Regions from separate parts of the Homo sapiens genome. Here region 1 is linked to region 2. The links are contacts of gene promoters, found by promoter capture Hi-C in blood cells and fetal thymus (Javierre and others, 2016). All regions are on one chromosome and are shown on one strand. The core of a region is centred on a gene start or on the middle of the fragment in contact, and the rest is flanking DNA. Distances in the headings are between cores, read along the strand shown.

Region 1 (6,125 bases), core at 1,120-3,619, 3.6 Mb after region 2:
AAGTAAATGATTAAGACTAGGCTCTAGTACCCATTTCCTAAATTCAAATTTTGTTACATCACTTTTTAGTGGTGTAACTTTTGGCAAATTATTTAATTTTGCACACATCAGTTTCTTCATCTGAAAAATAGGGACTATAATATAACCATGCACATAAATAACTTAGAACAGTGCCTGGTGCTGGCCAGGCATGGTGGCTGACACCTGTAATCCGAGTACTTTGGGAAGCCGAGGTAGGTGGATCGCTTTAGGTCAGGAGTTCAATACCAGCCTGACCAACACAGTGAAACCCTGTCTCTACTAAAAATACAAAAATTAGCCGGGTGTGGTGGCACCTGCCTGTAATCCCAGCTACTTGGGAGGCTGAGACATGAGAATCACTTGAATCTGTGGGGTGGAGGTTGCAGTGAGCTGAGATTGCACCACTGCACTCTAGCCTGGGCAACAGAGTGAGACTCTGCCTCCAAAAAAAAAAAAAAAAAAAAAAAAAAAGGGATAGTGCCCAATGCTGCTGAGTAAGCATCAGTAAATGTTAGCAATGATGACTCTACCCCGTTTGATTACATTAAGGAGAAAAAAAATCATCTTTAGAAAACAAATTAAAACATCACTTGAAAGTTTTTAATTAAACTTTTTTTTTTTTTTAAATAGAGATGGGGGTCTCACTATGTTGCCCAGGCTGGTCTTGAACTCCTGACCTCAAGCAATCCTCTTACCTCGGCCTCCCACAGTGCTGGGATTACAGGCGTGAACCACAGTACCCGGCTAAAGAAACATCACTCTTAACAAAGAGAGAGCAGGCCTCAGGTTTTGAGCCAACTGCAATATCTAGCTAAAATTTAATAATACCTTTTTTTAATTGAGTTTATTTTTTACTATTACTTTCTATTGAATTGTTTTCTATTTAGTGTACTGTTGTAAAGTTTCCTTTTTCAATTAACTTGTTAAATAAAATGAAGTGAGCCATCTCAAAGAAATAGGTTAAGTAAATTATAAGTGATATACAGATTTGGCAAACAAACAAACAAAAAAGACAGAAGTAGCACTTGAATTATGAAAACTTTCTCCCCAAAATCTTTATACCATGCATTCTTCTACCTCCATGCCCTCACTCAAGCCATTCCCTCTACCTGACTTCTACCTCCATGCCCTTCACTCAATGACTTCCTGTTGAAATCCTTAATAAATTAATTTAAAAATCAAACTTTACAACACTACTATAAATGACAAAACCAACCTTCAAAACCAAAGGACTACCTCTCACAAGGAACCTTCCTAAATCTTCTTTTTCCTCTTCCACCCCAAGTTAAAATCAATTTGTCTTTTTTCTCCTTTACTCCCTACCCCACTTGCCCTCTCACTTCTACTGCATTTTATTTATTTCCAAGTTTTCTATAATAATTCCTGTTCTGCCACATCTCAGTGCCTTTTCTCACAGCAGTAGGTTTAAAGGAGGGAGCTGTTGATGGGGCTCTTTTCAGTTGGGAGAGAGGCAGACCAAGTATGAAGCTAATGAAAGAAGTTGGTCATAAAGGACTGCATGTTTTATGATTCAATTTATAGGAAATGTCCACAACAAGCAAATCCATGAAGATGCAAGTAGATTGTCAGGGGCCGGGGGAGAGGAGAATGGGGAGTGAATGCTAATGGGGATGGGATTTATTTTTGGGGTGATGAAAATGTTCTGAAGAAAGTGGTGATGGCTGCACAACTCTGTGAGTATGGTCAAAACCACTGAATTGTACATGTTAAAGGGGGTGAATCTTACGGTACGTGAATTATATCTCAATAAAGCTGTTACCAAGAAAACAAAAACGACCCCCTCCCCCAAAACAAAACACAGGGTCTGAAGGCTTCTAACTGGGGAGAGCTTTCTGGCAGGCTGTGCTCCGCAGCGAGGCAGCCCCAGAACGAGCAAAGTCCCATGGAGTGCAGGTTCCTGGTCCCATCGTGGCTCCCAACTCTCTGTGGGTCTTCGGGCGCGTTGCTTACTTTCCAGGCTCAATTTCCTTGCGTGTTAGCTGGGGCTCCGGCCCGGAGTGGCCCCAACCCCGAATCCCCGAACCCGCACGCCCTGGGTCCGACACAGCTTCCACCAGCCACGTTACCTGTAGGGTCCAATGGCCCCTGGGGCTTTCGCGGTGCTGATCACCCTTCTGATCAAGGACGACATGGCTAAGCCTTCCCTCTTGCAGCCCCTTCAGGAGAAGAAGCCCCAGCACCAGCCCTGCTGGCTTCTTACTGGACTGACCAACCACAGCAGCGCCTCTGCCCCACAGCTCCCGCTGGGGGCGGGCTCGTGCGGCATTCTGGGAACTGTAGTTTCGGCGACGCTCCAGGCCACGTGGAGGAAGCGCCCGGTCTGGCGCATGCGCTCTCCAGCGCGCTCTCCAGGAGCTTTGGCTCGGTGGGTACTGTCGCGGAGGCTTGTCATTCTGACCCGGGGATTCCTCACAGCGTCTGGCAGGTTGGTCGTGAGGGGCTGGTGCCTTCCAGGATGCGAGTGTCGGGGGAACTGTATGCGGCGGCCCCCCTCCCGGCGCCCGTCTCCCCTCTTCATCGTTTCTCTCTCAGACTCCGCTGACCTCTTTCCTTGCTGCCTGTGCCCGGGGCCCCTCTCCCTGGTGTCGCATCTCCTTCGGCCCCTGCGCTGGAGCCCCCTACGTCAGTCATTTCCCTTCATTGCCCCGCCGGGTGGAGGCCGTCCTGGGAATGGGCTTGCATCCCCTCTTCTGCAACCCCAAATGACTAATATGGGTCATTCTGGCGACCACGCTGAGATCTGGGCGTTGGTCCTCCCGTGTTCCCTTTCCTGCTCCTCCTGTGTTCCCTTCTCTAGGGTGCTCCTCGGGCTTTACAAGGTCACTGTCTGAACAGAGCCCTAGTGATTGGGATATCATTTCAGAAAGAAAGATGGTGATCTGGAATGGCCCAGATCCCTTGTAAGTATTCTGCTGTGTCAGAAGGGGTGGTACTTGGCTAAATATTTCTTATCCTGTTAATATTTGCATTGTAAGTACGCTTCGTTTCTTCATTTATGCGGGCACTCATAGATATATGAGTCCCTACTTTGTGTAAGGCACTCTGCTAGATGCTAGGAGGAATGCAACAGTTAAAAAAAATAATAATAAAATCTCTGCCTTCCCTGCTTCCTAAAGATAATACAAGAAAATCTGCTTTATTCCCTCTCATTTTGTCCTACATACTGCTAAGGTTTTGGCCTTCCTACTTCCGGCTCAGGAACCTTCTGATCTTTTTCATTGGTTTGGGGCCTGGAATAAAAGACCTTTCAGTCTGGCCTCCCCTTGCCTATTCAAGTTTCATTGTCATCTACTCCCTTTTCCCACTAGAGTCCTCCTGTATTCACACTGTGGATTCCTGAATACTCTTTCTTCCTTATCTGTGCAAATTCCAGCTAACTGAAATTCTATTTTCTCTTTGACTTTTCCTACCAATTCACATTTTTTTCTTTTTCTTCTTTCCTTCCTTTCCTTTTCTTTTTCTTTGTTTTCTTTCTTTCAAGACAGGATCTCACTCTGTCACCCTGGCTGGAGTACAGTGGCATGATCTTGGCTCACTGAAACCTTGACCTCCTGGGCTGAAGCAATCCTCCAGCCTGAGCATCTCAAGTAGTTGGGATTACAAGTGCACACCAGCACGCCCGGCTAATTTTTGTATTTTCTGTGGAGACGGGGCTTCTTCATATTGGCCAGGCTGGTCTCCAACTCTTGGGCTCAAGCAATTCTCCCACCTCAGCCTCCCAAAGTGCAGGGATTACAGGTGTAACCATTATGCCCGGCCTCATTTTTTTTCTTTCCCTTGTCCTGTTTCCTATTGTGCTGTACCGCATAATTTAGTATTTTATTATATGAGATCCTATTTTCTAATTGTTATGTGTTTCAAGAATAGTGGATTGGAGAGGGAAGGGGTGGAAAAAAAAAAAAGAATAGTGGATAGAGTCAGACTGCCTGGTTTGAATCTCAGCACAATCACAAGCTTAGTAGCCTTGGACTGGTATATAAAATCTCTGTGCTTCGATTTCTTCATTTATAAGATGAGAATAATACTAGTGACCACAGAGTTGTGAGAATTAAATGAATAAGTCATGTAGAATAGTGCCTGCCACATCAAGTTCTCAATGCTGCCTAAGATGACAAAATTCTTATTCTACTTTGGAATTATACACAGCCTGAAACTATTGGGCACATAGTAGGTGCCCAAAAGTTTATTAAATCTGATTAAACTAGATAATTAAGACATATTTTTATTTACAAAATAATTCACCATTTAAGTTTTTAAATAAGAAGCTATTTTGGAGCATTACAAATGATTCAACTTGTGTAAAATATTTCTTGTGAAACAAGGTACCTTTATTCTTAAGACAGATTTTATATCAAGTCTGAATCACCAACTTTTTAGATCTGGAAGAAAATAGACATCATCTAGTTAGTTCCCAGGTTCTCAAACTGGGAACTAACTAACACCAAAGGTTGTGTCTGGCCAGAGGATACTAAGCTGTATCAGAAAACATAACGTATCCATTTTATTTGAAGATTTGGCGAAAATATTTTTATAAAGGCAGCACATATTTAGTGCTTATTAAAGTTTGACAAAACTGACTTGAAGGTGAAGGTAAGAGTTAAGATTCCTTCTGGAAACTTTTTTTTTTGAGACAGGGTCTTGCTCTGTCACCCAGGCTGGAGTGCAGTAATGTGATCAAGGCTCACTCACTGCAGCCTTGACCTCCCTGTCTCAAGCGATCTTCCCACTTCAGCCTCCCGAGTAGGTGGGACCACAAGCTCATAACTATGCCTAGCTTATTTTTTGATTTCTTTGTAGGGATGAGTTCTCACTATGTTGCTCAGGTTGGTTTCTCCTGAGCTCAAGCAATCCTCCCGCCTTGGCCTCCCAAAGTGCTGGGATTATAGATGTGAACCACCACACCAGGCCTCTGGAAACTTTTAAATTAAATCCTCAGACTTCATAAAGATGCATCCTATATTCATTCCCTTCTGCTGTTAGAGGACCACTGCCAGTTTGATTTCCTCATATTTTAGTCTGGACCCAAAGCTCAGGGATGTTCCCAAGGTTATCCTAATCCTCCAGCACCAACCTTTTCTTGGACCATTCTAATACTGAGGGGAGCTAGAGTTTCTATGGTGTTCTTGTCTAGCCTTGCTGGTGAGTTCTGATTCAAGCAGGTAACAGTAGGTTAACTAAGTTGTTTTGTAAAATATTTGGAATGGCTTTTAATGCAGACCGATCTGAATCATGTGCTTCACTAGCCAGCCAGTTCTGCAGAACTCCATTTACTTCCTTCATACTGTTTAATTTGAAAAATGTTTTTGCATGTAGATATAGCTGTCTTTCATTTAGTTGAAATTAGTGGAGTGAGACAGTGAAATGGCATCAATCCCTGCTATTTCATTTATTATTTAAGAATAATAGCTACCATAAACTGAGCATTTAGTTAGCATAAAGCCCCATGCTAAGTGAGTTGTGTATATGCATTTTGCAAAGCCAAAACCATGTACAGTATGTATATGTTTGTTCATTTTTTTATTTTGAGACAGAGTCTCACTCTATCGCCCAGGCTGGAGTGCAGTGGCGTGATCTCGGCTCACCACAATCTCCGCCTCCTGGGTTCAAAGGATTCTCGTGCCTCAGCCTCCCGAGCAGCTGGGATTACAAGCGCATGCCATCACACGTGGCTCATTTTTGTATTTTTTTTTTTTTTTCTTGAGACGGAGTCTTGCTCCGTCGCCCAGGCTGGAGTGCAGTGGCGCGATCTCGGCTCACTGGAAGCTCCGCCTACCGGGTTCACGCCATTCTCCTGCCTCAGCCTCCCGAGTAGCTGGGACTACAGGCGCCCGCCAACACGCCCGGCTAATTTTTTGTATTTTTAGTAGAGACGGGGTTTCACTGTGTTAGCCAGGATGGTCTTGATCTCCTGACCTTGTGATCCTTCTGCCTCGGCCTTCCAAAGTGCTGGGATTACAGGCGTGAACCACCGCTCCCGGCCTCATTTTTGTATTTTTTAGTAGAGATGGGATTTCACCATGTTTGCCAGGCTGGTCTTGAACTCCTGGCCTCAAGTGATCCACTCGCCTTGGCCTCCCATAGTG
Region 2 (6,549 bases), core at 1,378-3,877:
CCGAGTAGCTGGGACTATAGACGCACACCGCCACGCCCAGCTAATTTTTTGTATTTTAGTAGAGACGGGGTTTCACTGTGTTACCCAGGCTGGTGTCGAACTCCTGACGTCAGGCAATCCACCCACCTCAGCCTCACCAAAGTGCCGGGATTACAGGCGTGAGCCACTGCGCCTGGCCTAAAGTCTGTAATTCTTTGTCGAGCATTCAAGGAGCTCCATGATCTGTCTTTGAATTGCCTTGGGTGCCACTTCACACTGCTACTTCAAGCATACCCTAACAGACGACTGACTACCCCAGTAGAATGCCCTCCTTTCCTAACTACAACTGTGAAATATTGCCCCTTTCACCAAAGACCAAGTTCATAAGCCAAACACCTTGATGAAGTCTTTCCTGATACACTCAAATGAAAAGTTATCTCTGCCTCTTCTGAAATCTTGTATCTTTTATTTATACCCACAAAGGGAGCTAGTTCTAATACGTCAGATACTGATGGGCATTTTGTAAACTAAGATGATAAACCCCAACGAATTCACACTGTGCTTCTTTATGTGATCATCACATTCTAACTCAAATCACAATTTTGTGAATCTAATCTCCAATACTGAGTTATAACTTCTTGAAAACAAACATTTCAATATTTCGTATCACCCACAAACCCCTACTTCCTCCTTCAAGACTTGATTTAAATGTGATCTCTGCTAAGCCTTCCCCAATCACCCCAGAAGAAAGCATTTACCATCTGCCCTATGCTCTCAAGGTATTCAATGTTTACCTAAGAATGAATAAAAGAATAGAAATACATGATAAACTAATGAAGGCCAATTTTCCTAAACTAGAATAGTACTAAACTAATTCATCACATGCCTCTTTCTCTTTTTCCTTTTTCTCTTTCTTCCTTTCGAGACAGGGTCTCACTCTGTTGCTCAGGCTGGAGCACAGTGGTGTGATCTTAGCTCACTGCAGCCTTGAACTCCCAGGATCAAATGATCCTTCCACTTCAGCCTCCCGAGTAGCTGGGGCAACAAGATCAAACCACCACAACTAGTTAATTTTCTTTTGTAGAGACAGGGGTTGCACTGTGTTGCCTAGGATGGTCTCAAACTCCTGGACTCAAGCAATCCTTCTGCTTCCGCCTCCCAAAACGTTGAGATTACAGGCATGAGCCACTGCGCCAGGCTCTTTCAGTTTTAACTGTTCTCTATTTCTATACACCATAAGTTTGTTCTGATCCAACTACTGCCTCCATTGAGGGTTTTCTAAATCTCGGCTAGAATGTTAGATATAGTCATTGAACAAACAGTGCTAACTGACCCACATTAAATGTCAGACCATAAATTAACTGTCAGTAAGAAATGCTAACTCAAAGTTCTCCAACTTTTGACTTTTACAAACCTATAAACCATTCGTTAAATTAGATCACAGCTGTCAACTTTTTATTTTGCCAAGTAAAGCATTATGATACAATCACTACCCACTATCATTACTATCTCATAAAAGAAAGAACATTTTAAACATTTTCCATTCAAATATTTATTGAGCACCTACATTTTGCTAATACTGTCCTAGGCACTGGAGATACAGCTGAGAAAAAGAGAAATTATATCTGTCCTCAAAAAGCTTGATACAAGAGCACACTTGATAAAAATAAAAGGAAAAAAATAATCTCCAAAGAAAGAACAGTTCTCTAAATTAAGCTTACATTAAGACAGAAAAATGTGAAGTTCGTTTTTTTTTTTAACAATTTCTCCGTAGACTTCATTCAAGTTCATTTTTGGTCTGCTTTCAGGAATCTTTAGTTAACCAGCTATGTTTAATCTACATATTGCAGGGCCAATTGTACATTAAGGGGCGCTCAAGTAGTTTTGTACAGAAATATTACTCCACAACATTCCACCTCCAACCTCAAAGGAGATGTCTGCTGATGAGTTTAACTATAATTCTCTCAACTCTCCCCTCTTCGCAAGTATTCTCCGTGAATGCATCTCATTCCTAATGTGTGAAATCTCTCCGAGAGACAAGTATTAAAGTTTCAGGCCAAATCGGAGAGCACCGTAATCCTAAACCAAGTAAGTGTCACAACTGGGGAACATAATTCCCGACAGAAAAGAGGCCAAAGAGAAAGGATTTAGAAACATCGTGATTCGGAAACCACGAAGCCAACGTAAACTGCTCAGACTCCGGCACTACTGTCAAACACTACTGGCAAACCAAGACCCCTCCCAAACGCCATCTGAGGTAAACCTGAGAACCCTGATCCTTCTCAAGGCCCAAACCTGACAGGAAAAATAAAAAATAAAGCCATGCAAGCAGAAAAGCCAACTCGACCAAAGACACGGAGGGCCCAAGTTAAAGCAAGGAAATGAAGGGGCTGCTGCAGCCCTCCCTCAGACGCGATGCTCACACAGCTCGGGGGAGGGTGTCTGTGTGTAAGCGAGAAATTAAAGAAGCAATCTGCAGAAGGAAAAGTGGAGAACGCCTAACGGTTTTTTTGTAAAGATCCCAAGTCAAGAAGCAGCGTCAGAATCAAGTCGCCAAGCCTTACCTCAGCGCTCGGGTGTTTAAAAGTATCTAAAAATAACAGCTCCATCGCCGAGTCCACCGCCATGTTTGCCGCGGGCGGGGAACAGGGGGGAGGACTTCCGGGGCAGCGCTCCAGCCTCCGCGACAGCGACTCAGGAGAGGGAGAAACAGAGGGACTTCCGGTGACCAGAGCACTAGCGCCGCAAACCTCGGCCTATCCCAACGCATCTTGTTGCCCGGAGTTGCCGGCCCCGCCTTTTCCAGCGCGGCGGAGGGCGCCCCCTAGAACGCAGAGGGGGGGCAGAGGGAAGTGAGATGGGGACTACGGGGTCTCCAGTGGTTCAAACCCTGTCGTTCCTCCGCGTTACAGAGCTACAGCGGTCTCCGGGTGGCGAAGTGCGGAGACGGGGTTTTGGAGACGGTGGATGGAGGAGGGGGAGGGAAAGCTGCCAACTTTGGATACCAACCCCGTACACCCACCGAAGGGGATGTCCCACTTTTTCCAGCGCTGGGAGCAAAAAGATAACAGTGAGCGAGGTTGAAAAGTAAGACATTGATTTAAATAGAAGAAAAACTGTTGTTTCAACCAACGAAGAGATTCTTTGTTTTCTTATCTGTAAAATGTGAAAAATCGTACCTAACCTACAGGGTGATTGTGAGGAGTAATTGAAATAAAATTCGAGGAATTGTGTAACGTGAAGTACCATGAACAATAAAACAGGAGGCAGAATGAAAAGTAAGCCTCTCTGTCGGGTGTTGATGAGCTTTGGAGCAACGAGATAAACTCAGCGGGTTTGGTAGTCTAAATGGCACAAACCCTTAGCAGAGCAACTAGGAAATAGCTTGTAAAATTACACGTGCCTACCACTCTTCTAGGAAAATTCTCGCCCACGTATCTACAAATACAAGAATATTCATAGCAAACTTTATAAGTTGCAAAAGAGCAGGAAACATAAGTGCCATTGACAGAAGTAATAAGTAAATAGTGGCGTATTTATATAATAGTATATAGCAGGTACGAAGAATGAACCAGTGCTATGTTTACTAGCATGAAAAACCCAAAAAACAGGGTTGGTGGGCGCTTTGGCTCACGCCTGTAATCCAGCACTTAGGGAGGATGAAGCGGGAGGATCGCTTGAGCCCAGGAGTTGGAGAACTGCCTGGGCAATATAGCGAGACCCCGTTATTCACAAAAAGAAAAAAAAAAGACACAAACCAAAACAAAACAAGTTTAACTCCTCTCATCGCAAGCCGGGTGCGGTGGCGTGTTCCTGTGGTCCCAACTTCTCGGGAAGCTGAGACAGGAGAATCTCTTAAGCCCAGGAGTTGGAGGCCAGTGGGGACACCCATCTCTTAGAAAAGGAAATAAAAAATATATAGTGTAAAATAACATCTATATATTTAAAAACGTGCAAAAGAATATAAAATTTTAGGAGTGTACATATGTCATGAAATTATAAAGTCATGTATTGGAGTAACTAAAATTTCAAGATAGTGGTAAACTGGAAGGAGATGTAATGGAGAAGAACAGAAAGGCTTCACATGCCTTGGTAATGTTTTGTTATTTAGGTTAATGTTAATTTCACAAGCATGCCTTATATTATTGTTTGTACCTTCTGGTATGTCTGAAATATTTAATAATAAATGAATTTCTAAAGTAAATCTCCTCTCCACATCCTTCCTCAGCCATCCAGTTTCCTCTATTAGCTAGCTATAGTTTATCTTTTATTATTTGTTCTTGCATTGATATTTATTGCTTTTAATATTTTTCTGTTTTCTGATTCTTGCCTCTTTTTTTTTTTAGAAACAGGGTCTTGCTTCGTTGCCCAGCCTGGTCTCAAACTCTTGGCTTCAAGCAATCCTCCTGCCTCAGCCTCCCAAAGTGCTGTGATTATAGGCGTGAGCCACCGTGCCCCCCCCCTTCTTCTGTGTTTAGGCTTATATGCTGTTCTCTAATTTCTACCACTGATGTTTATTTTTATTCATATTTCTTATTTATTACTATATGTATTTATATAAATTTTCCCCTAAGCTCTCCCTTAACCAATGTACTATATAGTGCTTTTATAGTTGTCATTTTTACAGTCTGATTTTCTTAGCATTGATATCCTTTTTTTTTTTACATTTTTATTTTTATTTCAACAGTTTTGAGGGAACAGGTGATGTTTGGTTGCATGGAAAAGTTCTTTAGTGGTGATCTCTGAGGTTTTGGTGCACCCATCACCTGAGCAGTGTATACTGTATCCAATGTGTATGTAGTCTTTTATCCCTCACTCCCTCGCCCACCCTTCCCCGCCGCCAGTCCCCAAAGTCCATTATATAATTCTTAGGAGTTTGCATCCTCATAGCTTAGCTCCTGCTTAATAGTGAGAACATGCCATGTTTTGTTTTCCATTCCTGAGTTGCTTCACTTAGAATGATGGTCTCCAGCTCCATCCAGGTTGCTGCAAATGCCATTATTTTGTTCCTTTTTGTGGTTGAGTTAGTAGTATTCCCATATATATTCCCATATATATATATATATATATATATATATATATATATATATATATATATGTAGTATTCCCATATGTATATATATGTATATACACCACATTTTCTTTATCCACTCGTTGGTCGATGGGCATTTAGGCTGGTTCTGTATTTTGGCAACTGTGAGCTGTGCTGCTATAAACGTGTGTGCAAGTGTCTTTTTCATATAATGACTTCTTTTCCTTTGAGTAGATACCCAGTAGTGGGATTATTGGATCAAATGGTAGTTCTACTATTAGTTCTTTAAGGAATCTACATACTGTTTTCCATAGTGGTTGTACTGGTTTACATTCCCACCAGCAGTGTAAAAGTGTTCCCCTTTCACCACATCCATGCCAACATCTGTTTTTTTTTATTTTTTAATTATGGCCATTCTTGCAGGAGTAAGGTGGTATCTCATTGTGGTTTTGATTGGCATTTCCCTGATAATTAATGATGTTGAGCATTTTTTCATTTCTTTATTGGCAATTTATATATATATATATATATATTTGTTGTTGTTGTTTTGTTTTGGTTTTTGAGACGGAGTCTTGCTCTGTTGCGCAGGCTGGAGTGCAATGACTCGATCTTGGCTGACTGCACCCTCTGCCTCCCTGGTTGAAGCAATTTTCCTGCCTCAGCCTCCTGAGTAGCTGGGACTGCAGGCGTGCACCACCACCCCCAGCTAATTTTTGTATTTTTAGTAGAGATGGGGTTTCACCATGTTAGCCAGGCTAGTCTTGAACTCCTGGCCTCAGACAATGCTCGCCTCGGCCTCCCAAAGTGCTGGGATTATAGGCGTGAGCCACTGTGTCCGGTGAATTTGTATATTTTCTTTTAAGAATTGTCTATTCATGTCCTTTGCCCACTTTTTGATGGGATAATTTATTTTTTTCTTGCTGATTTGTTTGAGTTATTTGTAGATTCTGGATATTAGCCCTTTGTTGGATACGTAGTTTGTGAAGATTTTTCTCCCACTCAATGGATTGTCTGTTTACTCTGCTGATTATTTCTTTTGCTGTGCAGAAGCTTTTTAATTTAATTAGGTCCCATCTATTTACCTTTGTTTTTGTTGTATTTGCTTTTGGATTATTGGTCATGAACTCTTTGCCTAAGCCAGTGTGTACAAGAATTTTTCCTATGTTATCGTCTAGAATTTTTAGTTTCAGGTCTCAGATTTAAGTCTTTGATCCATTGTGAGTTGATTTTTGTATCAGGCACAGATGGGGATCCAGTTTCCTTCTTCTACATGTGGCTTGCGAATCATCCCAGCACCATTTGTTGAATAGGGTGTCCTTTCCCCACTTTATGTTTTTGTATGCTTTGTCAAAGATCAGTTGGCTGTAAATATTTGGCTTTATTTCTGGGTTCTCTATTATGTTGCACTGATCTACATGCCTACTTTTATACCAGTACCATGCTGTTTTGGTAACTATAGCCTTGTGGTATAGTTTGAATTCAGAGGGTGTGTTGCCTCCAGATTTGTTCTTTTTGCTTAGTCTTGCTTTGGCTATCTG

Evidence for each region. Contacts are between HindIII fragments. The CHiCAGO score rates a contact against its expected background, and 5 or more counts as called.
Region 1: the fragment with the promoter of POP1 here is called in contact with the fragment with the promoter of VIRMA in region 2 in 1 of 17 cell types (monocytes); the score reaches 9.4 in monocytes.

The regions. Positions count from the first base shown.
Region 1 is chr8:98,114,924-98,121,048 of GRCh38, forward strand. It overlaps POP1 (POP1 ribonuclease P/MRP subunit), which reads left to right and starts at 2,370. Exons shown (of 16, transcript NM_001145860.2): 1 at 2,370-2,467. RIDA (reactive intermediate imine deaminase A) reads right to left here and starts at 2,248. Exons shown (of 6, transcript NM_005836.3): 1 at 2,109-2,248. The coding sequence starts at 2,173. RefSeq lists enhancers at 2,353-2,402, 2,473-2,642. The HindIII fragment of the contact is 6,678 bases long and covers 1-3,994 here.
Region 2 is chr8:94,550,842-94,557,390 of GRCh38, forward strand. It overlaps VIRMA (vir like m6A methyltransferase associated), which reads right to left and starts at 2,628. Exons shown (of 24, transcript NM_015496.5): 1 at 2,544-2,628. The coding sequence starts at 2,606. VIRMA-DT (VIRMA divergent transcript) reads left to right here and starts at 2,872. Exons shown (of 2, transcript NR_183271.1): 1 at 2,872-3,066. RefSeq lists an enhancer at 2,322-2,941. The HindIII fragment of the contact is 4,366 bases long and covers 1,694-6,059 here.